Linked DNA regions of Homo sapiens: region 1 is linked to region 2. The links are contacts of gene promoters, found by promoter capture Hi-C in blood cells and fetal thymus (Javierre and others, 2016). All regions are on one chromosome and are shown on one strand. The core of a region is centred on a gene start or on the middle of the fragment in contact, and the rest is flanking DNA. Distances in the headings are between cores, read along the strand shown. Region 1 overlaps TUFT1 (tuftelin 1). Region 2 holds the start of MRPL9 (mitochondrial ribosomal protein L9).

The links. Contacts are between HindIII fragments. The CHiCAGO score rates a contact against its expected background, and 5 or more counts as called.
Region 1: a fragment that was not itself captured here is called in contact with the fragment with the promoter of MRPL9 in region 2 in 7 of 17 cell types (M1 macrophages, M2 macrophages, monocytes and 4 more); the score reaches 10.4 in M1 macrophages.

What each region holds. Positions count from the first base shown.
Region 1 is chr1:151,566,075-151,572,701 of GRCh38, reverse strand. TUFT1 (tuftelin 1) reads right to left here. Exons shown (of 13, transcript NM_020127.3): 6 at 6,474-6,539; 7 at 2,932-3,045. Among named protein-coding and RNA genes, the nearest start is that of MIR554, 24 kb to the right of the region's middle. RefSeq lists a silencer at 3,635-3,929. The HindIII fragment of the contact is 4,792 bases long and covers 2,982-6,627 here.
Region 2 is chr1:151,758,761-151,765,954 of GRCh38, reverse strand. MRPL9 (mitochondrial ribosomal protein L9) reads left to right here and starts at 2,459. Exons shown (of 7, transcript NM_031420.4): 1 at 2,459-2,628; 2 at 2,809-2,965; 3 at 3,455-3,579; 4 at 3,800-3,850; 5 at 4,403-4,504; 6 at 5,056-5,139; 7 at 5,774-6,308. The coding sequence starts at 2,476. The coding sequence ends at 5,905. It also overlaps a transcript of OAZ3 not described here. RefSeq lists an enhancer at 2,309-2,688. The HindIII fragment of the contact is 8,401 bases long and covers 1-6,605 here.

The DNA of each region.
Region 1 (6,627 bases), core at 4,128-6,627, 200 kb after region 2:
TTAATGGCAAGTTATTTTCATGGTAATTGATCATCTTGCCTTTCCTACCCATAGGTTCAGAAAAGTAGACCAAGGAGTCCAATTCACTAGGAGAGACTGAGACAAGCCTTCATATGACCCATATTAACCTGAAATAGGCCATCCCCATAGGCAGGAACTTAAAAGTAAGGCCTTTTAAAAAAATTTTATTTATGTACATTTATTTATGTTTATTTATGTACATTTCTGTACATAAATAAACACTGCACCTAGGTTGATGTGAGCTCAAGCACAGTGTTAATAAGGCCATGGTCTGATTCTTGCACCCCACTGTCGGAGCAAAAGGTTAAAAAAAATAGACTCCCCTTCCACATTTGACTCTGTAGCTCCAGCCAACCCTGCCCGCAAGGGAACCTCTTAATTATAAAAAGGTGTGCCAACCTAGCCCAACAGTGGGAATGACCCGAGGAGCACCTCCTTTTTTAAAAAAAAAATTATTTATGTACCATATTTATTATTTTTTAGACAAAGTCTCAATCTGTTGCCCAGGCTAGAGTGCAGTGGCACAATCATAGCTCACTGCAGCCTCCACCTCCTGGGCTCCAAAAATTCTCCCACCTCAGCCTTCCAAGTAGCTGGAACCACAGGCATGCTCCACCACACCAGGCTAATTTTTTTATTTTTGTAGAGATGAGATCTATGCTGGCCAGGCTGGTCTCAAACTCCTGGGCTCAAGGATCCTCCTGCCTTGGCCTCCTGAGGCCTCCTGAGGCCTCCTGGCTCACAGGTGTGAGCCACAGCGCCCAGCAAGAAGAAGCATCTCCTACTGCTGCAGGTGGTCCTGCATACTATGGGGTTAAGAAAAATAACCCCTTCTAAATTCTGGGCAGTGGGCTATAGCTGTCAGGGCACTTTTGCTCAGGCTCTGAAATCCAGAGCGGCAGACTCCTCCATGTGTGATTAAAACCAGCAAATATTTCTATAATTTCCACAACTTCATAATGTCTCTCAGTGCAGAAATTTTTTTCCAAAATTCACAACCTGGTCAGTGCTAGAGCCTCAACCTTCCTTTCTTCCTGTTTTGTTTGGAAAAGGTAGGAAACTGCTGGTCACCAACTGATACATCACCAACTAAATTATACAAATTGTGGAATCTGAAATAGATGCAACATACCTCTTCACCACACAGCTACTTTGTTCTGAGATGACAAACTAATTTTAATATTACCCTAAGTCCAAGCTATTAAAATAGGAAAATCTCCTTGTTAAACTGATTGCTAAGAAAAATATAGACTATTTTATATTTCTAAAACCCTTCAGAATAATAAAGTGCCCTCACATATATTACCTCACTCGATCTACACAACAAACTTGTAAGGTGTATTTCATTAACCCTTTTTCCAAAAGTTGAAACAGATGCTTGGAGAGGTTAAACTACTTGTTCAAATAATACTTCGGCTAACATAGAAGCAGTTTATCATCCTTGGTGCCCTTCCTCCTCACCGCCAAGCCTCTTCTCAAAAATTCTCCTTCTCAGTTCCATGAAAATGAAGAGTTCAAGCTGGCCTTTCTCTTTTTACCAGCTCCTAGCATGCCTAGGCAGGCTATAACCCTATCATAACATATTTATAACACAAAGAATACATTACTTGTGGAAGAACAAAAGCAGGTAACAGATGGTTAACCTCACACAGAGCAGTTGGAAAACTGCCCATGGGCCAGGTGTGGTGGCTCATGCCTGTAATCCCCACATTTTGGGAGGCTAAGGCACGCAGACTGCTTGAGCCTTGGAGTTTGAGACCAGCCTGGGCAACATGGCAAGACCCTGTCTCTACAAAAAACACAAAAATTAGCCAGGCATGGTGGTGTGCACCTGTTGTCCCAGCTACTCAGGAGGCTGAAGTGGGAGATGGCTTGAGTCCGGGAGATGGAGGTTGCATTGAGCCAAGATCATGCCACTGCACTCAAGCCTGGCAATAGAGTGAGACCCTGTCTCCAAAGACAGAAAGAAAACTGCCCATGTACCTTGTTTTATACTCAAAGAATTTTCTAGAAAATATGGAAGACCTCACATATAGTAGGGGGCTTTTACTCTCCATTTATAGATTTCTGTATTATAACAATAATTAATATACTCATTCCAGGCCGGGCATGGTGGCTCGTGCCTGTAATCCCAGCACTTTGGGAGGCTGAGGCAGGTGGATCACAAGGTCAGGAGATCGAGACCATCCTGGCCAACATGGTGAAACCCCGTCTCTTCTAAAAACACAAAAATTAGTTGGGCATGGTGGCGCATGCCTGTAGTACCAGCTACTCGGGAGGCTGAGGCAGGAGAATTGCTTGAATCCGGGAGGCAGAAGTTGCAGTGAGCCAAGATTGCGCCACTGCACTCCAGCTTGGCAGCAGAGTGAAAAAAAGATACTCATTCCAGACCACAAAGCTCTGCATAGCAAAGCTGAGTTTAGAGCCCAAATCCTCCAACTCGATGGGTACAGTTCTTTCTACAACAACACAGATTTAGTCACTCATCCAGTCCACGTTTATGAAGCACCTATCTAATACCAGGTATTGCACCAGACACTGGAGACTCGGGGGTGACATGTCAGCAGCAGTCCTTGCCTGCACGGAGTCTCAAGAGCCCAGGGATTCTTACCACGACACAGACAGAAATGACTTCTGAATCACCGGCTGCCCCAGATGGGCACCACCCTCAAACTCATCAGAGCAGAGAATCCCGAGCTGACCTTTGAACTATGGGCTGGCCTTGGACAGTAAACAGTGTAAACGTCCAGGAGAGGGAAAAGCAGACAAGCGTTCCAGGCTTCACAGCCTTGCCTTTCCAGTTTGTGGCACTCAGCCAGAAAGACAGGAAGTCCAAGCTGAGACATCACTGGCACCTGTGTTCAGTAGCCCATCCCTTAGGGCACCTTCTCCCCAAATCCCAAATCTCACCTCAAAAGCCACACAGTCTGACTGGTGTTGCCGCTTGGCCTCCTGAAGCTTGGCCAGCAAGTCCTGCACCGTCTTCCTCAAGCTCTCAACATCCTCATTTATACAGGTGTCCACCTACAGCCAGAACAAGGAAGGGAAGGGGAAGCCCTCAAGTTTCTGACTCAGTAAGAAAAGGTCCCCCCTCCCAGGCACACACTGGTTTGGACCATCTCGTCCAGACCACCCTCAAAAAAGAACTGTCATCACACAAGGGGAGAGTTACCTTAGGCAGCCAGGAATTCTGAGTTATTCAATGAAACATTGTCCCTTCATACCCTAAAGAACCCTGCTAGCCTCAAAACACCCAATTATTTTAGGACATGCTCAGTAATATTTCATGTATGTATCCACTAATCGATTTCTTGGTGAATATGTGGATGCTGTCTGTAGGTGTGCATCCTGCTTCCCTCTATCTGCCTACAGCTCTCTGAGAGCAGAGACCATGTTCCCCTTTGGACTAGAGTTCCCACAGGACAGGGACTATGTCGCGCCCATCACAAAGGGAGTGGTCCAAAAGCACATCCTTTACCATTCTCAGCTTTTGGCACTGACAGCAGCATATAAAGGGTTACTGATGGATGGACAGGTTTAGGGCAAAAGCATGCAATGAGTCCACGAATCTGATTCGATGTGGAAAAAGGTGTCTCATCGAGGTAACTGCTCAGTCTCTCCCAGACACACCCAACTGTGGGCTGGTGGTTAGAGATGAGCTAACATGTAGGGTCTCACCCCCGTCTCTGCTGCACAGGCACCAGACACTGGAGGAAGACAGTGTCCCAGTCTCTGCATCATCATCCTGTGGGTGATAATGAAGAAGTGAAGTCCTGTGGGCCTTCATTTCTTTATCTGTGAGGCAGTCAGTACACTCCCTACCACACCCTGCCTTACAGGCTGCCTCAAAACTAGGTAAGATAACATCCGGTACAGCTTTGAGCTTGTGAGAAGAAAGAGGCCAAACAGATATTACCAGGTGTTATTATAATTTGTTGCCAACAATGTATTTGCCAAATATGGTGATTCAAAAGAAGGAGAAAGTCCAAGCTGCCCATCTAAAGCAAGTGGTTAGAATCACAGCATTCCAAATCTAGATGTCATGAGTTATCCAGTCAATTTCCCTAAATCCTCACCTGAGCCAATGGCCTTTAAAAGGTTCCTGGAACACAGCTATTATGCACTTATTTCAAAGAGTGTTCTCATAAGACTGTTTAATGACATGGAAAACTTTCATGAAAATATTATTTCATCATATGATATAACATGAAGCAAAAAAGTAAGTTATAAAAGTACATGTAGGAGGCAGAAGCAATGAACTAGATTTTAATACAGCAATGTAGATAGATCCTAAAAAACACGGTACCAGGGAAAACAAGAACAAAGAGGGAAGAAGATATAGCACAAGTTCATCATGTATACTGAACATTTTACAGGCATATTTAAAGCCATATATTGAATTCATTAGAGTGAGTTTCTCTTGCAGGAGGTGGAGAGGCAAAAAAAACAAAAAACAAAAAACTGAAACCAGTGAGAGGCCTTGACAGGACCCATGAGGATGATGTGTCATGAACTAATGGGTGGGTCTGATTCAACCTATACTTGAGGGCCAAAAACACCGAATGCAAAAACATACCCAACTAAAGAAACAAAAAAAAAATTATAAAGAAATGCTACATACTGTACAATGTATTCACATGGTAAATATATATTTGCATTCGGGGAAAGATGAAATTTCACTGTGGTTTTTCTCTGAGTAGATTACAAGTGATATTTGTTTCTTCTTTCACTTTCCTGTGTTTCTGAATTTTCCAAATTTTCTACAATATGAATGTTTTGTATTGTATAATCACAAAAAAACATAATAACACACTTTTTAAAAATACAGTAATGGTGGCGGGGTGCAGTGGCTCACGCCTGTAATCCTAACACTTTGGGAGGCCAAGGTGGGAGGATCACCTGAGGTCAGGAGTTCGAGACCAGCTTGGCCAACATGGTGAAACCCCATCTCTACTAAAAATACAAAAATTAGCCAGGCGTGGTGGCTCACGCCAGTAGTCCCAGCTACTCAGTACGCTGAGGCACGAGAATTGCTTGAACCCAGGAGGTGGAGGTTGCAGCGAGCCAAGATCATACCACTGCACTGTACCCTGGGTGACAGAGCGAGACTCCATCTCAAAAAATAACAAATAAAGTACAGTCATGGAGGCCAAGCATAGTAGCTCATGACTATAATCCCAAAACTTTGGGAGGCCGAGGTGGGCAGATCACTTAAGCCCAGGAGTTTGAGATGAGCCTGGGAAACATGATGAGACCCTGTCTTTACAAAAAATACAAAAATTAGCCAGGTGTGGTGGCACGTGTCTATAGTCCCAGCCACTATAGTGGCTGCCACAGTCCCTCCCAGGCTGAGGCAGGAGGACTACCTGAGCCCAAGAGGTTGAGAATATAATGAGCCATGACTGCACCACTGCACTCCAGCTCAGATGACATAGGGAGACCCTGTCCCAAAAAATAATAATTATAAAAATTTAAAAAGTAGGCTAGGCACAGTGGCTCATGCCTATAATCCCAGCACTCTGGGAGGCGAGGCAAGCAGATCACTTGAGCCCAAGAATTCAAGAGCAGCCTGGGCAACCCCATCTCTACAAAAATTAGCCAGGCATAATGGCGCGTGCCCTATAGTCCCAGCTATTGGGTAGGCTGAGGTGGGAGGATTGCTTGAACCCCGGGGGTCGAGGCTGCAGTGAGCCATGATTGCCACTGCACTCCAGCCTGGGTGACAGGGTGAGACTCTGTCAGTCAGTCAATCAATCAATCAATCAGTCAATCAATCAAGTACAGCCATGGAAGGAAATACTATGTAGTTATTCAAAAGAATGAGGTAGATCTATATGTACTGACATGGAAAGAAGGTTATAATATACTCTTTAGTTAAGAAAAAAAAAGCAAGCAAAGAATAATGTATTTACCATGATCTTATAGTTGAGAAAAGCACATGTATATTATATACATATATTTATCATGTATATATGGTGTGTATATAACATATACATGATATTTAAATATGGTTGTCTATGTATATAAAAATATTCTAGAATACTGGCACTCAACTTTAGCTAAACATTAGTATCACCTGAAGAGCTCTTAAAAGTCCTGATGCCCAGGCCACCTATTGGAACAATGAAATGACAAGCTCTAGGGATGGGACCCAGGCATCATATCCTTTAACGCTTGCAAGGCCATTCCAATGAACAGCTGAGGCTGAGAAGCACTGCCCTAGAAAGATCCACCCACTTCAATCTGTTAACAGTGGATACTCGCAAGGAGAGAGATTGGGGAAGGAGAATTTCTACTCTTTGTATTTCTCTGTGTTTGAATTTTTATGTCAACTACTACTCTTGTATTTAATGAGAGAGAGAGAGAGAGAGAAAGCAATAAACAAAAGGATGGGGAGGAGGCAATCCTGCCCCTGGCTAAGCGGAGCCACCATGGTGTCCTCTGTTACCTACCTCAGGTGGGCTGCTGTACAGGGCTGTGGGACTCTGACTAAAGCCATTTGGCTTTTCTAGCACCACCTGTTCAAAGAAAAATAAAATTGGTAGTTAAAACAGATGAAAGCAACCAACTTTGAAACATTATTCTCCTAACACTCAAATCTTAGAA
Region 2 (7,194 bases), core at 1,210-3,709:
GGCGGGCGGATCACGAGGTCAGGAGATCGAGACCATCCTGGCTAACACGATGAAACTCTGTCTGTACTAAAAATACAAAAAATTAGCCGGGCGTGGTGGCAGGCGCCTGTATTCCCAGCTACACGGGAGGCTGAGGCAGGAGAATGGCGTGAACCCAGGAGGCGGAGCTTGCAGTGAGCTGAGATCGTGCCACTGCACTCCAGCCTGGGCAACATAGCGAGACTCCAACTCAAAAAAAAAAAAAAATCAACTACTAAAAAATTGTTGATAAAAAAACAACATTGTAAGCAAAATTTGGTTCTGGGACTGCCACTTTGAGACCTCTGCATATTTATCCATTCAACAAATATTTATTGAGGGTCTACTATTAGCCAGGCACTATTCTAGGTGCTTGAGATGATACATCAGTGAACAAAACAAATCCCTGCCCTATGGAACGTATCTTCTAAAAGTGAGAGGACAAACCTAGAAAATAAACATAGTAAATTGTTTAGTATGTTAGAAGGTAACTGCTATGGGGTGGGGGGAATAGAGCAAGATAAAGGAAGATAAGGAATGTGAAGGGGATGGGTCAGGGTTACAGTAAGAAATAGGGTGATCTCTCACTGAAAAAAACTGACATTTAATTAAACACTTGGAGGATGTGAGGTTGTTAACCAAGCCAGCATCTGAGGATAAGAGCATCCAACGCAAAAGCAGCCAGTGCAAAAGCCCTGAGCAGGAAACGTGCCTGGTGTTTTCAAGAAACAAGGAGGCCACTGTGGGTGGAGCAGTGTAAATTAGAGAGGAGCTAATGGGGTCAGAGTATGTATGGCCTTGTAGACCATCTGATGGCCTTTTTCTTTTACCTTGAGTAAAGGAGGAAGTCATTACAAAGTTTTGGGTGGAAGAATGACATGATCTGACTTATGCTTTAAAAAGATCATTCTGGCTGCTATAAATAAGCTACATAGAATTATAAACTGTAGAGAATTAAGGGATATCTTTTAGGGGACTATTGCAGTAATCCAGGAGAAAGTAGTGTCTTATTCCAAGGTAGAGCATTGGAGGTGGTGACAAGTGGCTGGATTCTGGAAATACAAGTGCTCCTTGACTTAAAATAGGGTTATGTCCTGATAAACCCATCGTATGTTGAAAGTATCATAAGTTGAAAATGCATATAATACACCTACCAAACACCATAGCTTAGCCTAGCCTATCTTAAACATGCTCAGACAACTTATCCGACAGTTGGGTAAAATCATCTAACACAAAGCCTATTTTATAATAAAGTGTTGAATATTTCATGTAACTTATTGATGTCCTACTGAGTGCACATCACTTTCACACCATCACAAACTCAAAAATTGTAAATCCAAGTCAGGGACTATCTGTAATTTAAAGGTAGAACCCACAGGATTTCCTGATGGAGTATGAGAGAAAAGAGTTAGAATGGAAAGAATGGAGTTTCTGTCAACTGAGAGGAAAAAGGCTGCAGATGGGGCAGTTTTGGGGGCGAGGGGGGAATAAATAAATTAGTTTGGGACAGTTAACTTTGAGGTGTCCTTTGGATACGTAAGAGGAAAATGACGAATAAACAGTTGAATATTTGAGACGAGTTTGGGAGATGTCTAGGATGGAACTAGAAATTTGGGAGTCATTGGCTTATAAATGGTATTGTAAGCCACGAGACTGGATGAGATCAACAGTGAGTGTATACTGAGAAGAGTAAAGGTTCAAAAACGGAGTCCCGAGGGCATTCTAAGAAGCGGGGAGAAAAGGAGAAATCAGCAAACGAGACTGAAGAAGACCGGTGTCCAGGAGGCCAAGTAGTGTATTTAGGAGGAAGGAGGACTGGTCAGTATGTTTAAGGGCCAGTCTTTCCATAATCTCTGCCAAATGGACCTTCTTTCATCCAGTTTTTATGGTCTTCTGTCCAGTACTGAGACCCTCCCCAGAGGGAACTGTCGCGGCCTTACCATAGTTGCTTTTTTTTCTACGGTTTACATAGCTTGTGATTTAGAATTCTCCTTTATTAGCTTAAATACTGCAGTATAATGATTAAGGGTCAGGCTCCTCCTGGAGCTGGCAGAGTTTTCCAAGGGATCCCATCCTTTACCACTTTTAGGTAGATTTGAAGTAAGGAAAAGTGAGAGCATCATTCATTCTCCGGTCAGTATCCAGTCATCACAGAACGTTAGAATTAAAAGTTAGCCCAGCAACTGGAGCTACAGCAAAGCCCACACTTTCAAGAGGAAGAGCGTCTTTTCCGGCGTCAGTCCACCTAACACTCATTCCATTATCAGTCAGTAATTCTAGGCGTCCGTCACCTCTGCCAAAAAGCAAAAATAGGCAAGCCGCGGTGCCATCTGTTCCCCGGCCCGCTCCCCATACTTTCGCTCAGCCGTACCGGCGCGCCGCAGGCAGCACTGGCGGGGGCCTTTCCTGCCGCCGACGCCGGGGTCCTCCCTCAGGTCTCATTCTGTGCCTGTGAACATGGCGGCGCCCGTTGTCACGGCCCCGGGCAGAGCTCTGCTGCGGGCGGGCGCTGGACGGCTGCTTCGGGGAGGCGTCCAGGAGCTACTGCGGCCGCGACATGAAGGGAACGCCCCTGACCTGGCCTGCAACTTCAGCCTTTCTCAAAATCGGGTGAGGGCTGAGTCTGGGGTAGGGGGTAGATACGCTCGAGTATTGTTTCTGGAGGCGCACTGGGACCTGGAGGGGGCCGATGTGGGGGTGGCGGGCTTTCCTTGAGGGGCTGGCGGCCGTGGTGGAGGGAGAGGGTGTTCCTTGTGGAGACTAGCTTACCGTCGCTTTCCTGGCCGCCAGGGCACGGTCATCGTGGAGCGCTGGTGGAAGGTACCGCTGGCCGGGGAGGGCCGGAAGCCGCGCCTGCACCGGCGACATCGCGTCTATAAGCTGGTGGAGGACACGAAGCATCGGCCCAAAGAAAACCTGGAGCTCATCCTGACGCAGTCGGTGGAGAGTAAGGCCCGGGCCGAGGCGCTTCCTCTCAGGCTGGTCCGGTTTGGCATCAGCTTTTTCTAGCCCGTCCCCCTCAACTATTTGCCTTGCTTTTTCTTTGTGGAAACAATCCAACTCTATATGTGAGAAGAGGAAGCCATAAAAACTATTGTGATTGTGACACTGGCCTCCAGCATTGAAAATTAAAACATAAAGGCAGCAACATCATTAACAGTGTGTGGGGAGAGGAGCCTGACAATTTGTGCCACAGATACTGAAATCCTCCATGGGACGACAACTCCCTCTATACAGGGGATATTAAATTTATACATCAAGTTCTAAAGAAACTAATTAGCAGTCTCTTAAATCTTGTTCCTAGTGAATATGAATTAGCATTTCTTTTAGGAAAAATAAGCACTGTGAGAAACTAAGAGGTGCTTCTCTTTTTGACATCTTTTCTTTAGGGACTCCTAGATGGTTCTAATTCCCCTGTCTCTGTTCTAATTGACAGATGTTGGAGTCCGGGGTGACCTGGTCTCAGTGAAGAAATCTTTAGGCCGGAATCGACTCCTTCCTCAGGGACTGGCTGTATATGCATCCCCTGAAAACAAGAAGCTGTTTGAAGAGGAGAAATTGGTGAGCTCAAAGGAAGGACAGAGAGACTTGGGGAGATAAAACTTCTTTTCTCTTGCAGCTTCCTTCCCTTTGACATTTAACTTAACTTGAAAATGAAATAGGAACTAGAAGAACAGGAATGCAGAAGCCCAGCCAATGTCCAACATAGGAATAGTTTGATGCTATTTAACATGGGCTCATTTTTCTTTTACTGCTTTTCATCTTTAACTTTCTTTTCTAGCTGAGACAAGAAGGAAAATTAGAGAAGATCCAGACCAAGGCAGGTGAGGCGGTGAGTAGAAACATAAAAAGTGTTTATTTGTCACAAGACTTACCAACCTCACCCTGAGAGTCTCCCTGATTCCCTTGAGGTCTCCTGATTGCAGACCCAAGAGTGGGAGAAAGGGGAAGTGTTGTGGCTGCCCCACAAAACAGGTATGGAGACCTCTTGGGAGATCCCTGATGTGTTGGGTGAAGTGCCTTAAAGTACCAAGGGAGGTCCCAATCTGGGAATCAGGGAACCCATGGAATAGTCTGAGATGAGGGCTCTGCCTTCAAGGATATTTACGTACAAGTTGGAGAGAACATGGACACATGAGAAGATAATCAGTACAGGCACCCGCCACCATGCCCGGCTAACTGTTGTATTTTTGGTAGAGACAGGGTTTCGCCATGTTGGCCAGGCTGGTTTCAAACTCCTGGGCTGAAGTGACCCACTTTGGGAGACCCACCTTGGCCTCCCAAAGTGCTGGGATTACAGGCATGAGCCATCTTGCTTGGCTTGCATACCCTGTGACCCTGACATGTTTCCTCTCCTTTGACTCAAACTCATAATTCCTTTCAGACAGTGAAATTTCTAAAAAGCTGTCGCCTGGAGGTAGGGATGAAGAACAATGTCAAATGGGAGCTGAACCCTGAAATAGTTGCCCGCCACTTCTTTAAGAATGTGAGTGAGTGTTCCCAAAAACCACTCTACCCCTGAGGTGGAAGCTGCCTCTGGAAAGGAGGCCTGGGATTGATCCCTTTGTTAGGAAGGGGTGTGATCATCCAGTTGTAGTTAAGGAAAGTATTCTTGGTTAGTTTGCAGGAATATGGGAAGGAAATGGCTAAGGACTAAGGATGGTCACATAGAATTTGAAGACTGATAGGAAAAGGTGGTGGTTTCCATTTATTTCCTGTCTACCTAGGGAAATGCTGGGGATTTGTGACTCACTGGAGAATTGTTACTTTTGTGGATGAAGTGGTTTTGGCCTCAAGCCCTGTTTCTCTTTGTGAATCTACCTCCCTTTCTGAGAAATCAGAATTGAATTTCTCTACTACCGTCTATGAAGGTGTATGCCCTTCTCTCCCATGGAATCAGCCAGAGTAGACACCCCAGTTTTATTCATCCCTGTGCAGGGAATCCTGTAACCCTCTTTATGAGGTTCCCTAGAGTGGCAGTCATGAAAACAGAGTTCATTTGAGCTGAGATTTTTTTTTTTTTTTTTTTTTTTGCAGCTTGGTGTTGTGGTTGCCCCACATACATTAAAGTTACCAGAAGAGCCTATCACACGGTGGGGCGAGTATTGGTGTGAGGTGACGGTGAGTGTTTTGCATACTTTCTTTTTTCTTTTCTTTCTCCTTTTCCCCCACTTTTTCCTTTTTTTCCTTTCTCTTAAAGACAGGGTTTTGTTTCATTGCCCAGGCTGGATTCAAACTCCTGGGTTCAAGCGATCCTCCCACCTCAGCCTCCCAAGTAGCTAGGACTACAGGCGTTAGCCACCGCACCTAGCACCTACCTCTCCCTTTTTTCTAATTTTTTTTTTTTTTTTTTTTTTTTTGAGCTGGAGTCTCACTCTGTTGCCCAGACTGGAGTGCAGTGGCACGATCTCAGCTCACTGCAACCTCCACCTCCCAGGTTCAAGCGATCCTTCTGCCTCAGTCCCCCTAGTAGCTGGGATTACAGGCACACGCCACCGTGCCTGGCTAATTTTTGTATTTTAGTAGAGACAGGGTTTCCCCATGTTGGCCAGGCTGGTCTCAAACTCCTGACCTCAGGTGATCCACCTGCCTCAGCCTCCCAAAGTGCTGGGATTACAGGCATAAGCCACTGTGCCCAGCCCTAGCTCTCCTTTTTCTGACTGGGAGAAAAGTCAGGGTGAAAAGCTGGGATTAGGTGGTGCTAAATCTTACTTACCTGACTGATCTCTGAGAATTCCCATTGTTTTGTGTGCAGGTAAATGGGCTTGATACTGTGAGAGTGCCTATGTCTGTCGTGAACTTTGAGAAGCCCAAGACCAAAAGATATAAGTACTGGTTAGCCCAGCAAGCTGCCAAGGCTATGGCCCCCACCAGCCCCCAGATCTAAATCTACTCTCCCTCCAAGGCAGCAAAGCAGAATCGGGAGCAGTGGAGCAGAAATGTGCAAGCACCCTGATCTCACTCCCAGCTCTGACCAAATACAGAATTTTAGAGAACATCTGAAGACATCAGACTGCACTGCGTATACATGTTGAATTCTTCATTTTTGCCATCTTTAACTGTCATCACTGGGGCAGGGAAGTCCTGTTCCAGAAGTACCAGGCTGTAGATTTGATAAGCTAGATGCAGTAGACCGAAACCATCCAAAACCTGTTTAGCTTCTTCCTCCATTGGAGTTTATTGGGACAAACAGGAGAGCCAGCCATTGTCTCCAGTACTTGCCTCATTCTCATCATCCAAACTGAACATTTGTATCCCAAGCAGAAATAAAGAGAATATGTTCTTTTTAAGTAAGTGTTGCTTACTGGTCTTGAGTAGATGAGACAGGACATCCAACTGAGATTTCCTTGAGTCACAGAGGTTTGCTGCTAAAAAGGAAAGAAGAGAATATCTTAGACTGCATCCCACAGTTACTGTGGTATGAACAAATTGTGCTGAACAAGTTGATGATGTGTTTGGTCTTAACACTTACTCTTCTTAGATACATTGATGTAGTCATCAATGTGAATAAGCACAATGGATTCTGCTTCTCTAAGACCTGAGTAAGGCCTAAGGGTAATTGTTGGAAAGCTGGGATGAAAGAAGCTTAAAAAGGGAACTTTTTTCCTTGAACCAGCTCCTGAAATTCTGAAAAAGAAGTTACCTTAATTTTCTAGACCAAGATTAAGATAGGGAGCTAGTCAAAAGGTAACTCTGGAATGGATGAATGGATGTCTTGATGGGAGATAAACGAAAGTAGATAGTTTTTTCCTTTTTCTTTTTCTTTTTTTTTTTTTTTTTTGAGACAGAGTCTTGCTCTGTCACCCAGGCTGGAGTGCAGTGGCATAATCTCAGCTCACTGCACCTCCGCCTCCCTGGTTCAAGTGATTCTCCTGCCTCAGCCTCCCGAGTAGCTGGGACTACAGGCATGTGCCACAGCACCCGGCTAATTTTTTATATTTTTAGTAGAGATGGGGTTTCACCATATTGACCAGGATGGTCTCAAACTCCTGACCTCATGATCCACCCTCCTCGGCCTCCCAAAGTGCTGGGATTACAGGCAGGCATGAGCCACCATGCCTGGCCTGAAAGTAGATAGTTTTCTGTAAGTTCAGAGTTTCATTAGTAGAAAAAAACATTCATTTTCAGGTGGATTGTGCCAAGGTCACTCAAATACAATGTGAGGTCATGCAGTTT